3 separate regions of the Homo sapiens genome follow, and all the other regions are linked to region 1. Evidence: promoter capture Hi-C in human tissues and cell types (Jung and others, 2019). All regions are on one chromosome and are shown on one strand. The core of a region is centred on a gene start or on the middle of the fragment in contact, and the rest is flanking DNA. Distances in the headings are between cores, read along the strand shown. Region 1 holds the start of CD38 (CD38 molecule). Region 2 overlaps LOC124900670 (a long non-coding RNA gene). Region 3 has its middle 130 kb from the start of LINC02493.

Region 1 (4,701 bases), core at 868-3,367:
AAATGTCAAAAGCAATTCCAACAAAAGCGAAAATGACAAATGGGATCCAATTAAACTCAGGAACTTCTGCACACCGAAAGAAACTATAATCAGGGTGAACAGACAACCTACAGCATGGGAGAACATTTTCAAAATCTATCCATCTGACAAAGGTCTAATATCCAGAATCTACAAGGAACTTAAACTAATTTATAAGAAATAAACAACCCCATTAAAAAGTGGGCAAAGGACATGAACAGATATTTCTCAAAAGAAGACATTTATATAGCCAACAAACATATGAAAAAAAGCTCAACATCATTGATCATTAGAAAAATGCAAACCAAAACCACAATGAAATATCATCTCATGCCAGTCAGAATGGTGATCATTAAAAAGTCAATAAACAACAGATGCTGGTGAGGTTGTGGAGAAATAGGAACACTTACACTGTTGATGGGAGTGTAAATTAGTTCAACCATTGTGGAAGACAGTATGGGGATTCCTCAAAGATCTAGAACCAGAAATACCATTTGACCCAGCAATCTCATTACTGGGTATATACCCAAAGGAATATAAATCATTCTGTTATAAAGATACATGCATGCATATGTTCATTGTAGCACTATTCACAATAGCAATGACATGGAATCAACCCAAATGCCCATCAATGACAGACTGGATAAAGACAATGTGGTACATATACACCAGGGAATACTGTGCAGCCACAAAAAGGAACGAGATCATGTCCTTTGCAGGGACATGGATGGAGCTGGAAGCCATTATCCTCAGCAAACTAACACAGGAACAGAAAACCAAGCACTGCATGTTCTCACTTATAAGTGGGAGCTGAACAATGAACACAGGGAGGGGAACAACACACACTGGGGCCTGTTGGGGAGAGTGGAGGGAGGGAGAGCATCAGAAAGAATAGCTAAAACATGAGGGGCTTAATACCTAAGCAATGGATTGATAGGTGCAGCAAACCACCATGGCACACATTTACCTATGTAACAACTCTGCACGTCCTGTACATGTATCCCAGAACTTAAAACAAAATAAAAAAGATAAAAAATAAATAAAACACACAGTCCAAAAAGTCATCCTGTCTTACAGAGCTATGGGTGATCTGGTCTCCTGCTACTTTCCGAACTTCTGTTCTGTTTCCCTCAACCCTCTAGCCTAACTACAATTGGCCTCCTTGCTGCTCTGGAACAGGCCAAGAGCTTTTCTGCCTCAGAGTCTTTGCACCTGCCATTTCCTCTGCTTGGGAAATGTTTGCCCCAAGGGAGTTGGGTGACTTGATCGCTCACATTACTTAGGTCTCTGCTTGAATGTCACAGATGTTCTCTTAATAAAGAAGAGGCAAGAAAAGCCACTTTATTATTTATTAAACTCCCGCATAGAGTGCAGTATTATTACTGTGTGCCAGACCCTGCTTCAAACACATTCCATGGACTATAAAATTGCATCTCTGAGCAGCTCCTAGAGCTGGTAGTAACAACTTACATTTACTGGGTGATTACCATGTGCCAGGTATTGTGCTAAACACGTTGTAGATATTAACTCACTTAATCCTCGTAACAATCCCATGAAGTAGGTACTGCTACTATCCCGGCTTTACATCTGAAGTACAGAGAGGTTAAGTAACTTGCCCCATGTCATCCAGCAAGAACTAAATTTGAACCCAGAGCTTAGCCACTGATGCCTCTTGAGAGAAGGAGTCAGACTTAAGTTGAGTCTTTAAAGGTGGTTGACCAGGCATTTGTCAGAGTTAAGAAAGAGAGGTAGGACATCCTTTTCCAGGCAGAGGGCATTGTGTGCACACACGTATAGAAGCAGGCAGCCCACCCTCATGCTTTCCAGGAAGCAAATGTGGCTCAGGTGTAAAGTGCCCGGTTGATGAAGGGAGTTAGCGGAGGGAGTATAAGGATGTACTGTCTGCCCCCTTAGGACACCTGCAGAGGATTAAGGTGGCTGTTTCTCCCTGGAGGTGGAGTGGGTGGGTCACTGCACAGGAGCCTATAGTTGTTGGTCTTTTAAACTCTTATTGGTGTAACCAGCCACGGAACTCTGAGGCAAGGGGTTGGGGGTGGGAAGGGAAACAGAGAAAAGGCAAGTGAAACAGAAGGGGAGGTGCAGTTTCAGAACCCAGCCAGCCTCTCTCTTGCTGCCTAGCCTCCTGCCGGCCTCATCTTCGCCCAGCCAACCCCGCCTGGAGCCCTATGGCCAACTGCGAGTTCAGCCCGGTGTCCGGGGACAAACCCTGCTGCCGGCTCTCTAGGAGAGCCCAACTCTGTCTTGGCGTCAGTATCCTGGTCCTGATCCTCGTCGTGGTGCTCGCGGTGGTCGTCCCGAGGTGGCGCCAGCAGTGGAGCGGTCCGGGCACCACCAAGCGCTTTCCCGAGACCGTCCTGGCGCGATGCGTCAAGTACACTGAAATTCATCCTGAGATGAGGTGGGTTGGCGACTAAGGCGCACCGGTGGGCACTGCGGGGACAGCAGGGCCCCGCGCGCAGGGAAGCCGCCCGGATCGCCCGGAACCGGGCATCTTCCGTGGCGGGTCAGCCGAGAGCCCGCCGGGTGGTGCTGAGTAGGGAGTCCCGGGCTCGGGGCTCCGCGGGCCGCTTTCAGGAGCAGCTGGCCTTGGCACCGAGCGTGCCCGCGGGAGGCGGGGGGGGGCGCTGCTCGGTGGCTCTGCTGCGTAGCCGGTGAACACTTGGCACCGATGCCCGCCTTCTGGGCAAGGTGCCCTGAGCCCAGCCCCTCGCCGGGCTGCAGCCCACCCTCGGCGCGCTCAGCCCGCTTCACCGCTTCAGGGACGGAATAGAACTCGCAGATGCAGGGTGTCGCTGACATTTTCAACTTTTTCTGCGGTTTCCGCCCGCTGTCTCTGACCCGAAAGTGCCCCCGGACGGTTACAGAGGACACTTAAGTGGTTTGCAAAGCCTGTGGTAGGGGAGGAGGGTGTAGAAGGGCCAAACCACGGAACTTAGTTTTATTCATTTATATAAAGCAGCACTCCGATTCTTTTTGCGCGGCCTGAAATGCATGTGACCAGAGAAGTAATTAACAAAACAATGTCAACTTCTAAAACCGAGACATTACTTAGATGATAAGGCGCAGCAACTCGGTGAATCTGTACAAACCTTGGAAAAAAAACACATTAGTCTATGGGACCTTCCAGTTTTCTCATGCTCCTTTCCAGCTACTAACCTCTCCTAAAGGGAACAACCACTTTTTGGATTTGATTCCCAGGCCTCGCTTTCACCGGGAAATTATCGTTGCTTGTAAAACAGAAGAAGCCGGGAAGGCAGGCAGGGGGAGCTGCTACTTTACACTCTGTGCTTTGGGATAGCAAAATCCCGCATTTAAGCAATCCGAGGAAACGAGCAAATAGACCTCCCTCGCCTCTCCGAGCACACTCAACAGTTCCGGTTGCAAAATGTTTGCCTCCTGGGCTTCCCAGCGTCCCGTTAGTTGTTCTATTTACACATAATTAGATACTTAATGGAGAGAGAAACTAGAAGTTGAGGCGTTCCTCCAGGCTGTATTGTAAAGTATGAAGTGAAATCCAAAATGAAATGGTAATGTTAGAAAGCAACCTCATTAAAAAAAAAAAAAGTAACACTGGTCTTGAAGATCTTTCAATGTGAGTACATAAAGATCTATCTCATTTCTTTTGACAGCCCATAGTATTTCATAAACTAGATGTAACCATTTCCTATTGACAGGAAATTAGCTTGTTTCCAATTTTTCAATCCCATTCATTCATCCAACAAGTATCTGTTGAGCACCCACTATGTTCCAGACAGTGATCTAGCTACTGATGACACAAGAGTGAATGACGAAGTTCTCACTCATGAAATTTTCACCTTAGTTGGGAGAAACATGATGCAATGAAAATCTTCATACATACATTGTGTGTACATATGGGAGTATTTCTGTAGGATAGATTTCTAGTGATGAAACTGCTGAGTAAAAGGGAGAATTATGCATATTTTAAGTTTTGATTTTTCCAAATTCCAGGTATTCCATATATACTCCAAAATAGTTGTGCCATTTTACTCTCCCATCATCAGTCTATCAGAGGGGATGCTTTCCCACAATCTCTTGAATGCTGAATATTTTCAACTTTTTTACTTAAGAGAAAAAAGAGCATCTAATTGTTCCCTCAGTATCAGTGAGTCTAAGCATCTTGTATATGTTTATTTGCCATTTATATTTTTTTCTGTGATTTTCCTGTCCAGATACTTGATACTTTCTATTGAGCTGCTTATTTATTTCTTATGGGAGATTTTTATATATTTTAGATAATATTCTCTCTCTCACACACACACACACACACACACACACACACACACACACACACACACACATACAGTCTTACAGCCACATCCCTGAAATCTTGACCTTGTGAACATGTTTTACTGGCAGCACTCTGGACTCGATCATTGCCTTGAGACTATTTCTTTTTTGATATTCTTTGGAAAGACTAACAATGACAGTTTTATTTTCAAACCCAACAAATCCTGGCATGGAAATGTTTGCTCTTGATTCTGCTTTTAAAAAAATAAAGAATTATTTTCTCTCTTTCTTTCTGCACCTTATCAGAAACAGCTAAAAGAAGTGAGTTGGGCCAGGCACTGTGGCTCACACCTGTAATCCCAGCACTTTGGGAGGCCCAGGCAGGTGGATCACTTAAGGTCAGGAGTACAAGAC
Region 2 (4,701 bases), core at 1,468-3,967, 1.6 Mb before region 1:
GAGGACACTGGAGAGGTCATCAGTGGAAATTGTTGTTCCACATAACATTTCTTACTTTAAAAGGATCTGTAAAGAATACAGAATATCATATTTACAAATACAAACATTGATTTTTATAAAAGAGATTTCCATGTGGATTCAATGGCTGATCCTCATCTCAGACTCCTTGAAAAGCCTTGCATTTAGGGACTTGGGGTAGAAAAACAACCCAATCAAGAAGGGAGAGAAGATCATTCAGAAATGTAGGCTGAGACTCACAGCTTAGAATAGCTGTGCTGGTAAGGGAAGAATTTTAGGGACATAACTCCCAAAAGAGAGAAAGAAGAGGATATGGGCCAGCCATGGCCCCAGGGAGAAGCAACAATTATTGACTAGCATCAGAGGCTCAAACTGAGGCAGGCTGACCTCTGGGAGTAAGGAGGGATGGAAGGTGAGTCAGTGGAGCAGGAGAGAAAACCAATTTGGGGAAGCTTTGCTTAGAAAGGAATGAAAGTTAGGGCCTGATAGGTAAAGCAGAAGAAAAGGAAAATTTAAATACTGTCTTCACAGAATGATTCCAGAACTTGACAGGCCAGATTGTAGCACAATTAAAGGTGTAAAAAGTTGTATGGCTAAAGGAATTTAACCACTTTGAAGTTTATACACCACACAAAGCAAAGAGAGGAGGTAATTGGCCAGAACTCTAGTTTTGGTTGTTTTAGAGCATGGAAAGAAAAACAGTCACAGGATGGATCTTCCTTTCTTGCTGGCACTTCTTTGAGAAATCACAAGAAAGAAGAGGCCTTTCTAAGGCTTTGGAGAGCCAGATGGTTCTTTAAACATGGACTTTCCTCAGGCCTTTAGCCAGGGAAGTCCTGTGCTAGTAAAAATTTAACAACTGACTTTCTGGGACAAAACAAAACCCTCTAATTTGTGATGTTTACTGATCTCCATGGTGTGAATACTTTCACATGGCTCATTTCTAGCTAACATCAAGAAGTCACTGAACAAGGAATTGGGAAGAGCTGCATTCAATTGGTCTTGCTTGCCTGTGTGACCCAGTGTGAGCTGGTTTCAGCACACCAGTGTAGTCTTGGTCTCCTTTGTCATTTTTTTCTGAATGCCGTCTTTCCAGTATGCAGGCTTTGACTAAGCATTTAGGCAGAACTGAAACATTCAAATTAATGCCATTTCAGGTACCCACTGGTCTCAAGGTGGTAGTTTCTATCTTTGTGACTTGCCATCCATACCACCCCTTTCGACGTACACTGCTTTCTAGCAGCAGAAAGCCAGCTTGAAACTTCTGTGACAAATGAGGTCCACCAAAAATTTTTAGAACAACAAAAAATAAACTAGTAGGGAAAAAGTGGCCTAAATAAATGGGTCATGCAAGTAGAATTAAAATTGTAATTTTTGCTATTTGGTGATTTGGAGAAGACTTAGCTTTTATGCATTTTGACAGAGTAGCAGCTGTTGTTATCTCTGTAACCGGGGTGTCAGAAGTAAAATGTCAAAGGTAGAGGCACTTCCTGCTTGGTTAGTCATCTGCATTTCCTGACAAAGGCCCAAGAGGAAATGGTTTCTATTCCTTGAGAAAGAAGCAAGGGAGGGGCAAGGACAGGAGTCCTGGCTGAATTCACTGTATCTAAAAGTCTTTCATTCTGCTGAATTTACATCATGAGACTGAGGCCTTGTAAAAGCTTCCTAACATAAGAAAAATGGTCTTGGATAAAACCTTCATGTTCCTTTGTCTTTTGTTTTTTGTGCATTACTAGGATTTCAGGAGTAAAATTTCATACACCAGTGTTATTAATTTAAGAATCCAAGTGGCCACACTCATCATATAGTCTGATTGTCCACTTCTGAAAACTTTTGGGGAGTATTTTTAAAATAATACATTTCAAGTACCCATTGTCTCAAGGTGGTACTTTCCATTTTTGTGTCTTTCCATATATAGTGCCCCTTAGAATATACAGGAATGGTACACTCCAGCAGCAGAAAGCCAACTTGAAACTCCTGGGTCACATACAGTCTATCAAAGATTTTTAGAACAAAAAAATAAACTAATAGGAGTTAGTTTATTCCTATGCTATCAAAATATATTTAAAAATTAACAGTGAATAATGAAGAGGCAAAAACCTATAACATGAGACACACCTACACAATTTCGTCTTTTTCATTCTAGCATTTTTACTATTTTTTTCTACTATGTTGTTTTATCCCCCAAGTGTTTAGAACAGTGAAATGTGTTTCCAGTTTATATTCTCTTTATGAAAAACAGCATTACTGAATAGATGCCAATGAGAAAAATAAACTATTAATATACCCTCTCTTTTTACCTCTTGGTTCCCAACTCCATAAATCAAAGATTTGAATACAGTCTGGTACAAGAAGTGAGAGTATTTAATTCCTAAATTTGAACTCAAGTAAAGGTGTGTGGGCTGGAGAGCTCTTTGGAAAGTGGGAGCAGACCTTTTTGTTTGTTTAACAACTGGATGATGTGGAGTTACCTCATTAGGCCCATGCAGGTTTAATGATGATTTACAGAGAATGCATTGGTAAGTCCCTGCAGAGGGCAAAAAAATGATTTTCCTTGACGATTTCTAAGACATTTGTATCCTCTTCTCCATAATTACCCCATTGGGTTTTGACTCTCTTAATAGCACAGGCATTTTCCTAAACATTTGCATTTTTTTCTGTTATTAATCCTCTTGCACAATGCTCAGTGATTTTTCTTGTTGGAGATCCTATTGCCAGTTTTCACTGGCTCTCACTCATACAGAGCTGGGGGTCATGAGATTTTTATCTTCTACCCCTTATAGCATCTATCCCAGTTGCTAAGAATGCCACTGATAGCTGGCATTTTCAGGATTTGACAATCTACCTTGCCCTTTCACAAACATTTGCTAAGTTGTTCATCACCTCCCTGTGGAGGAAACAGGAGAGAATTTTATTAGGTAGGGTGATACAAGGGGAATCCACACATTGGGAACAATATTGAGTAGCCAGGTTGAAGGTACAGGTCAATCAGCAGTTGTCTTAAAGCTTTCCTAGTATTCTGCTTGCTATTCCCACTCCTTTTGTTTATCTGAAAATATTTATTATCTGTTCAGACAGTGTAATTCACTGGGATGAAGCTCAACACAGGGAATCCCGCATGCCCTTTTCTCATAGAACATTTTAAAATTACCTTTGTAGTTGTGGTTTAGCAGGACAAAACTGGAACCATTCCCCATGTGTCATCTATGTCATCTTGGTTCTCCCCTTGCCTGTTGCTGCTAGAAAATGGGTCAGGTATTTATGGCTCAACATAGCATCCCTGGTGCCAGGATGATCCAGTTGGCCTAAGGCAGAAGGAAGCTCAAACAAAAAGGCAACATCACCAGATTGGTTCCGTGGGAGCATAAGCCTCTGAATTTGAGGTTCAGGTCACATTTCTTGGCATGATCTTCCAGTTTTATGTGCTAGCAGCAAGCAAGTGGGTTGTTAGAGTACTAGGACTGAAGTGGGCTAAAATAAAATTGGATTATGAAAGATATTCCAATGGTCAATGACACTTATACATTTTCATGAAATAAAACAAACAACTTTCTCCTTTGAATTGAGGTAGAATCATTTCAACATCCACTCTCATGATCCATCCATGCATGAAGATGTCAATTTTTTTCATATTCCACAAGACACTCACTCTCTTATCATTGGCAAATTCAGAGAGTGTTTACTAAAAGCTATGTCTATTAGGGAGGCAGTGAGGGTGTTGAGGGATTCTGGTAATAGTAATGATGTTATTATCACAGCTCAACTGAGCCTCAGAGTGACTTTCCTGATGTTCACAATTGGTCAAGAGTAAAGATAGAGTTTGAATCCAATTCTTTTGATATCAGGCCTCCTAACTTTGAATCCAATTTTCTGTCCTCTATGGAACTGTTGGTGCCTGCATATAGAGTATTCAATAAAGGTTTGCTGAACTAGATTGAATAAAACTGAAGGCCAAAGGGAGTTTTAGCCCTGCCTTTCCAATGAAGGCAATTTCCTATTGACCAGACTCTCACCTTTCTGTTCTGCCTCTGAGTTCATTTGATAAGAGACTTGATTTGGGCTTGTTTTAGCAGATAAGTTGAGTTAATATTTATTTTAGGAAAGTGGGATTAGTGAAGATAGGTAGGGAATGAATTATACATTCTCTGAGCAACTGAAGGTCATTAGGAAAACATGCAGCTGCCGGAGATTTCCGGGTAAGGCTTGCACAGTGGGGGCTGGAGGTGATTTCCAAATGTTGTGGTTTCTATTTATTGGAGTTACTTTGGAAGTGGTGAGCTGGGACAATTACGCTGTTAATTCAGATAAAAGGGAACTTTTTAATAGAGAGAGTGACAAATCACTATGTAAATATGGAGAACGCAGCTTCCAAGACTGGCAGACAGTGCAAGGTATGGGGACGTGAGAATCATAGGATTTGAGTGTTTTGCTGACTCTGTATGAGTCAGAAACCAAAAGAGGGGCATGAAGTGAGAGAACCAACTCAACTAGCAAAAGAGACCCGGCAAGGGGAGCCATTCTAATGCAGAATCCAAAAAGTGTATACAACTCAGGGAGCATTTAGAATAATGTTAGCACTAGAAATTTTTGTTTTGTTTTGTTTGAGAAGCAAAAAATATTGTGTAGACAGAAACTAAAGGTTGTTATTAGGCAATAATAATAGCTAGTAGATCATTCTTTATC
Region 3 (4,701 bases), core at 626-3,125, 1.3 Mb after region 1:
ATGAAAGTCCTAGAGGCATCTTTGGCATCTTCTTCTAATACAAGGTTATTTTGTCTATGTGGCAAATCTGTTGTTTAGTGTAGACACCCTCATCAGTTGTCTTGGCTAGATCTTCTGGGTAACAGTGTAGCTTCTTCATCAGCATTTGCTGTGTGTCACCTTGTACTGCTTCACCTTCTTTCATAAACTAAAAGTAGATAGAAGTGGTTTCTTTTCTTAAACCTCATGAACCCACCTCTGCTAGCTTCAGACTTTTCTTCTGCAGCTTTCTCACTTCTCTCAGCCTTCATAGATCTAAAGAGAGTTAGGGTCTTGCTTTGGACTAGGGTTTGGCTTAAGGGAATGTTAACAGCCGGTTTGATCTTTCATCTGGATCATTCAAGCTTTCTCCATATCAGCAATAAGGCTGTTTTGCTTTTTTTTTTTAATCATTTGTGGGTTCACTGGAGTAGCACTTTTAATTTCCTTCATAAACTTTTCCTTTGCATTGACAACTTGGCCTAACAGTTTGGCACAAGAGGTTTTGTTTTCAGCCTGCCTGGACTTTCAACATGACCTTTCTCACTAAGCTTAATTATTTCTAGTTTTTTACTTAAGTGTGAGATGTGTGACTCTTCCTTTCACTTGAATACTTAGAGGCCATTGTACGGTTATTAATTGCCCTAATTTCAATATATAGATATATAGATTTATATATATATTTATATTTATATCTATGTTACATACATATGTTACATATATATATGTGTGTGTGTATATATATATATATATATATATCTCAGGGAATAGGGACCCATGAGGGGAGAGAGAAGAGGAGGGGGAGGGAGGTGGGGGAAGAGTCAGTGAGTAGAACAGTCAGAACACACACGACATTTATCAATTAAGTTCACCATCTTATATGAGTGAGATTTGTGGTGCCCCAAAACAATTATAATAATGACATCAAAGATCACTGATCACAAATGAAAAATTTTGAAATACTGTAATAATTATCAAAATGTGACACAAAGACATAAAATGAGCACATTATTTCTTTTTTTTTTTTTTTTTTTTTTTTTTTTTTTTTTTTTGACAGAGTCTCACTCTGTCGCATGGGCTGGAGTACAGTGGTGCGATCTCAGCTCACTGCAACTTCTGCCTCCCAGGCTCAAGCAATTCTCCTGCCTCAGCCTACTGAGTAGCTGGGATTACAGGTGCATGCCACCATGACCATCTAATTTTTGTATTTTAGTAGAGACGGCATTTCACCATGTTAGCCAGGCTGGTCTTGAACTCCTGACCTCAGGCAATCCACCCACCTCCACCGCCCAAAGTGCTGGGATTACAGGTGTTAGCCACCACACCTGGCAAAATGAGCACATTCTATTGGAAAAATGGCGCAATGGACTTGCTCGGCACAGGGTTACTACAAATCTTCAATTTGTAAAAAACGCAATAAAATAAAGCTTAGTAAAACAAAATATGCCTGTGTTAATTATTAAACCTACCATGAGATCCTGATATTTAATGACTTCAAGAGGCCCATATATGAGACACTACACATTTTAAGCATGTTTGAGAACTTACTTTAATTGAATTGCAATCCTGCATCTTTTATGGATTTAAACATTATCCTGGGAAGGGGATCCATGGGCTTTGTCAAATTGCCAAAGGCATCTTTGGCATAAAAATGGTTAAGAATCGTTTTTTCTTTTTAAGTGATGTAACTGGGTGAGTTATTAAGAAAAACTGGTGTCAGCATCTCCTTCCTCTTCTATAATATTATATCCAGGTATTCCCTGTATTTCCAAATGAGTCACTCTGGAGGAGCTGGAGCCCAAAGGAAGGGCTTGGAGAAGTAGAAACAGAAACAGCTCACTGGGAGAGGGAAGCACAGTATTAGGAAAAGATGGAGTTTGCGTGGTTGTTGGCAGTAAAAGATAGCTGCACTCCTTCTTTGCAGTCCCATAGGGAGGTATGACAACCTAATATTCATGGGTAAACAGCAAGCCAGTGGGCCCAGGGGCTGGCAGAGACATGAAGGCTCCCACCTTCAGCACTGACTCCCTTGCAAAGCACAGCACAGAGCAGTGAACCTTCTGAGTTAGGACAGTTCACATTGCAGCAAGGACCTTGGTGTTCTAAAGACCAGAGACCCTGGACACTCCCTAACCCCTGTTCACACACATGTACAAAGAAAAAACAATAGAAATGAAATTTTTTGCCTCCTGGTGAACCAGGACTTAAAGTCCAATTTTCTTAAATAAATATTGTGCCATTTCTTATTTCCAAGTGTTGTAGCTGAAGAAAATTCACGTCTGCTTTCCTAAGACCTGAAAGTTGAGTAAGAGTTAACTAAGGAAGGTTGGTGGGATCAGGGCTGTACTTGACAGGAAGCAGCATGTGCAAAGGCCCAGGGGTGAGAGACAGGATGACACTGGTGGAAGGGAAGGCCAGTGAGCCTCAGGGTAAGACAGGAGAGGGAGATGGAAGCCTGCACCACAGAATCTTCCTTGAGATGGGCCATGCTCAGGAATGTGGCCTTTCTCATCCCAACACTGGGATGGCTTCAAGTGTGTGTATAGGTTTTAAGGATGTGGTTAGGGTGGAGTGAGCAGAAAAGAAGGGTGTGAAATGATGAAATTTGCATTTTACATAAATCTCTTTGGCTAAAGTGTGGAGAAAACATTGGAGAAGGAAATAAATAGGTGAGCAGAGGCACTTTCAAAATCTACTGCAACTGTCCCATGAGAGGTAATGGTAGCTTGGACCAGTGAGGAGGCAGTGAAGGCAGAGAGGAGTGAGGGCATTCAAGAAAGAGGAAATCAACCCAAGCAGGTGTGGGGATGGAGCAGGCCTCTAGGGTGAGAGACGCTGGGGTACTTGGCACATATGCGTGGGGATATGGCACTCCTTAAGGTGGTATCATTCCCTGGCATAGAGCTCCCTGAGGAAGAAACAGGGAAGAAGGGAGAAATCAGGAGTCTGCTTATGACAATATTGTAAATGAGGTGCTGGTGAGATATAAATAGTTGGATGTGTGGGTGTAGAGAGTAGTATCCATTAGCTGTACAGGTTCAAGTAGAGATCTTCACATCTTCAAATTTTATGCTACTCTCCATTATCCTTGGCCTTTGCACATGGCAATGATAAAGATGATTACAATGATGATGATGATGACGATGATGATGATGACGAATAACGTTCATTGACAATTACCTTGTTCTAGGCACTTTGGTGCATTTTAAATTTAATTATTATGACTACACTGTATGTTTGATTACTATCCCATTTCATGCTTGAGAAACTGAGGCGTAAGATCACATAGCCAATCAGTAGCAGAGGCATGATCTAGACCCAGACAATTTGTTCCATAAAATGGAGATACCAATCATATTCACTTTATAGGATTGTTATGAAGATTAAATTTCAAATGATAATAACTGACATTTATGAAGCACCAGACATTCTTTTAAGGGCTTTTAAATTTAATCAGTAAAACAACATTATGAAGTAAATAGTACTTATTATTATCTCCATTTTTGACATGAGAAAACACAATTACAGGGAGCTTGAATAACTTGCTTGTGGTTAGTAAGTCAAAGCAAAGATTGAGACTCAAGTTTTCTAGCTCCAGAGTCTATGGTCTTGACCACTACAGATTCATAAAGTGATGAAGACAGTTCCTGCTACAGGGCAAGCATTCAATGGCACAGTCCAGGAAATTAAAACAAATTTGTCTCAGGACCTACCCAATGACACTGATCCTTTGCAAAAGATAAGGATCTAAGCCTACATTTGCATTAAGGGCTAAGAGCTGAAATGTAAGAACACCTGCCAAGGGAGCACAAAGTAGATGCTCAATAAGTATTTGTTAAACGATAAATAAATGGATAAGCCCTGGATGAGATTAGTAAATGGATCAGAATATAGGACCTGCTCTGCCACTGTCCCTTGGCTATGTCTCTTAGAAATATCACTTCTTTTCTTAGGTCACAGTTCACTCGTTTGTAAATATGTTGGTGGAACCATCTGACAGGGCAAATGATATACATGCTACATGTTATCATTCCTTACTCCTGCCCCCTTTGACAGACATTGGTAATCCATCACAGGCCTATTTCCCAGTAAGCCCAAGCCCACTTTCAACACCATGCTCTCAGAAATCGCCAGGGATGCCACTGAAGGTGCAATCTGTTACCTGATCCTGAATTCCATGGTCTCTGATGTCACTTCCAGCCCTGACATCTCATCACTCCCTGAAATAAAGTCCTGCTTTCTTGAGACCCTCTTCTGCATGAATCTGCTGCCTTTCATTGTCTTTGCTCAACCCCAAACCTAGATCCTTGAACAGACTGCATTCTGTTCAGGCCATGGGGGGAGAATATGAACCACATGCTGAAAGAACTCCAGTTATTGACATATCTGACTGGCAATGCTGAAGCTGCCCTGGTGACTGGAGGCCACGTGCTGCTGTCAGCAGCATCCTTCATGAGAGGCCTTCCCATGTTTCCTAGGCATTCCCAGTGTTCTCAGGAGTAATTGGCTTTTGTTTTCTTTTTGCAAGAATTCTGCTCTTCCAAAATTTGTTTCTTGTCTGCCTGTTCACAGCTGCAATCTACTAGGACCAAGCAAACCAAAATGAAAGCACTATTGCTGATGCCCTCAACCTCTCCCATCATGCCCAGAAAAATGGGCCTCTGTGATGCTCCCAGGATTGTC

The links. Contacts are between HindIII fragments. The study calls those that stand out against the background at their distance.
Region 2: a contact is called between a fragment that was not itself captured here and the fragment with the promoter of CD38 in region 1, in 1 of the 25 tissues and cell types used here (lymphoblastoid cells).
Region 3: a fragment that was not itself captured here is called in contact with the fragment with the promoter of CD38 in region 1 in 1 of the 25 tissues and cell types used here (H1 embryonic stem cells).

Annotation. Positions count from the first base shown.
Region 1 is chr4:15,776,211-15,780,911 of GRCh38, forward strand. CD38 (CD38 molecule) reads left to right here and starts at 2,118. Exons shown (of 8, transcript NM_001775.4): 1 at 2,118-2,437. The coding sequence starts at 2,205. RefSeq lists enhancers at 1,903-2,545, 1,957-2,456 and silencers at 2,587-2,636, 2,827-2,876. The HindIII fragment of the contact is 9,174 bases long and covers 1-4,701 here.
Region 2 is chr4:14,177,069-14,181,769 of GRCh38, forward strand. The region is part of intron 1 of LOC124900670 (a long non-coding RNA gene); the gene reads left to right. Among named protein-coding and RNA genes, the nearest start is that of LINC01085, 67 kb to the left of the region's middle. RefSeq lists an enhancer at 1,437-1,731. The HindIII fragment of the contact is 3,286 bases long and covers 1,075-4,360 here.
Region 3 is chr4:17,050,344-17,055,044 of GRCh38, forward strand. No RefSeq gene overlaps it. Among named protein-coding and RNA genes, the nearest start is that of LINC02493, 130 kb to the right of the region's middle. The HindIII fragment of the contact is 6,550 bases long and covers 1-4,701 here.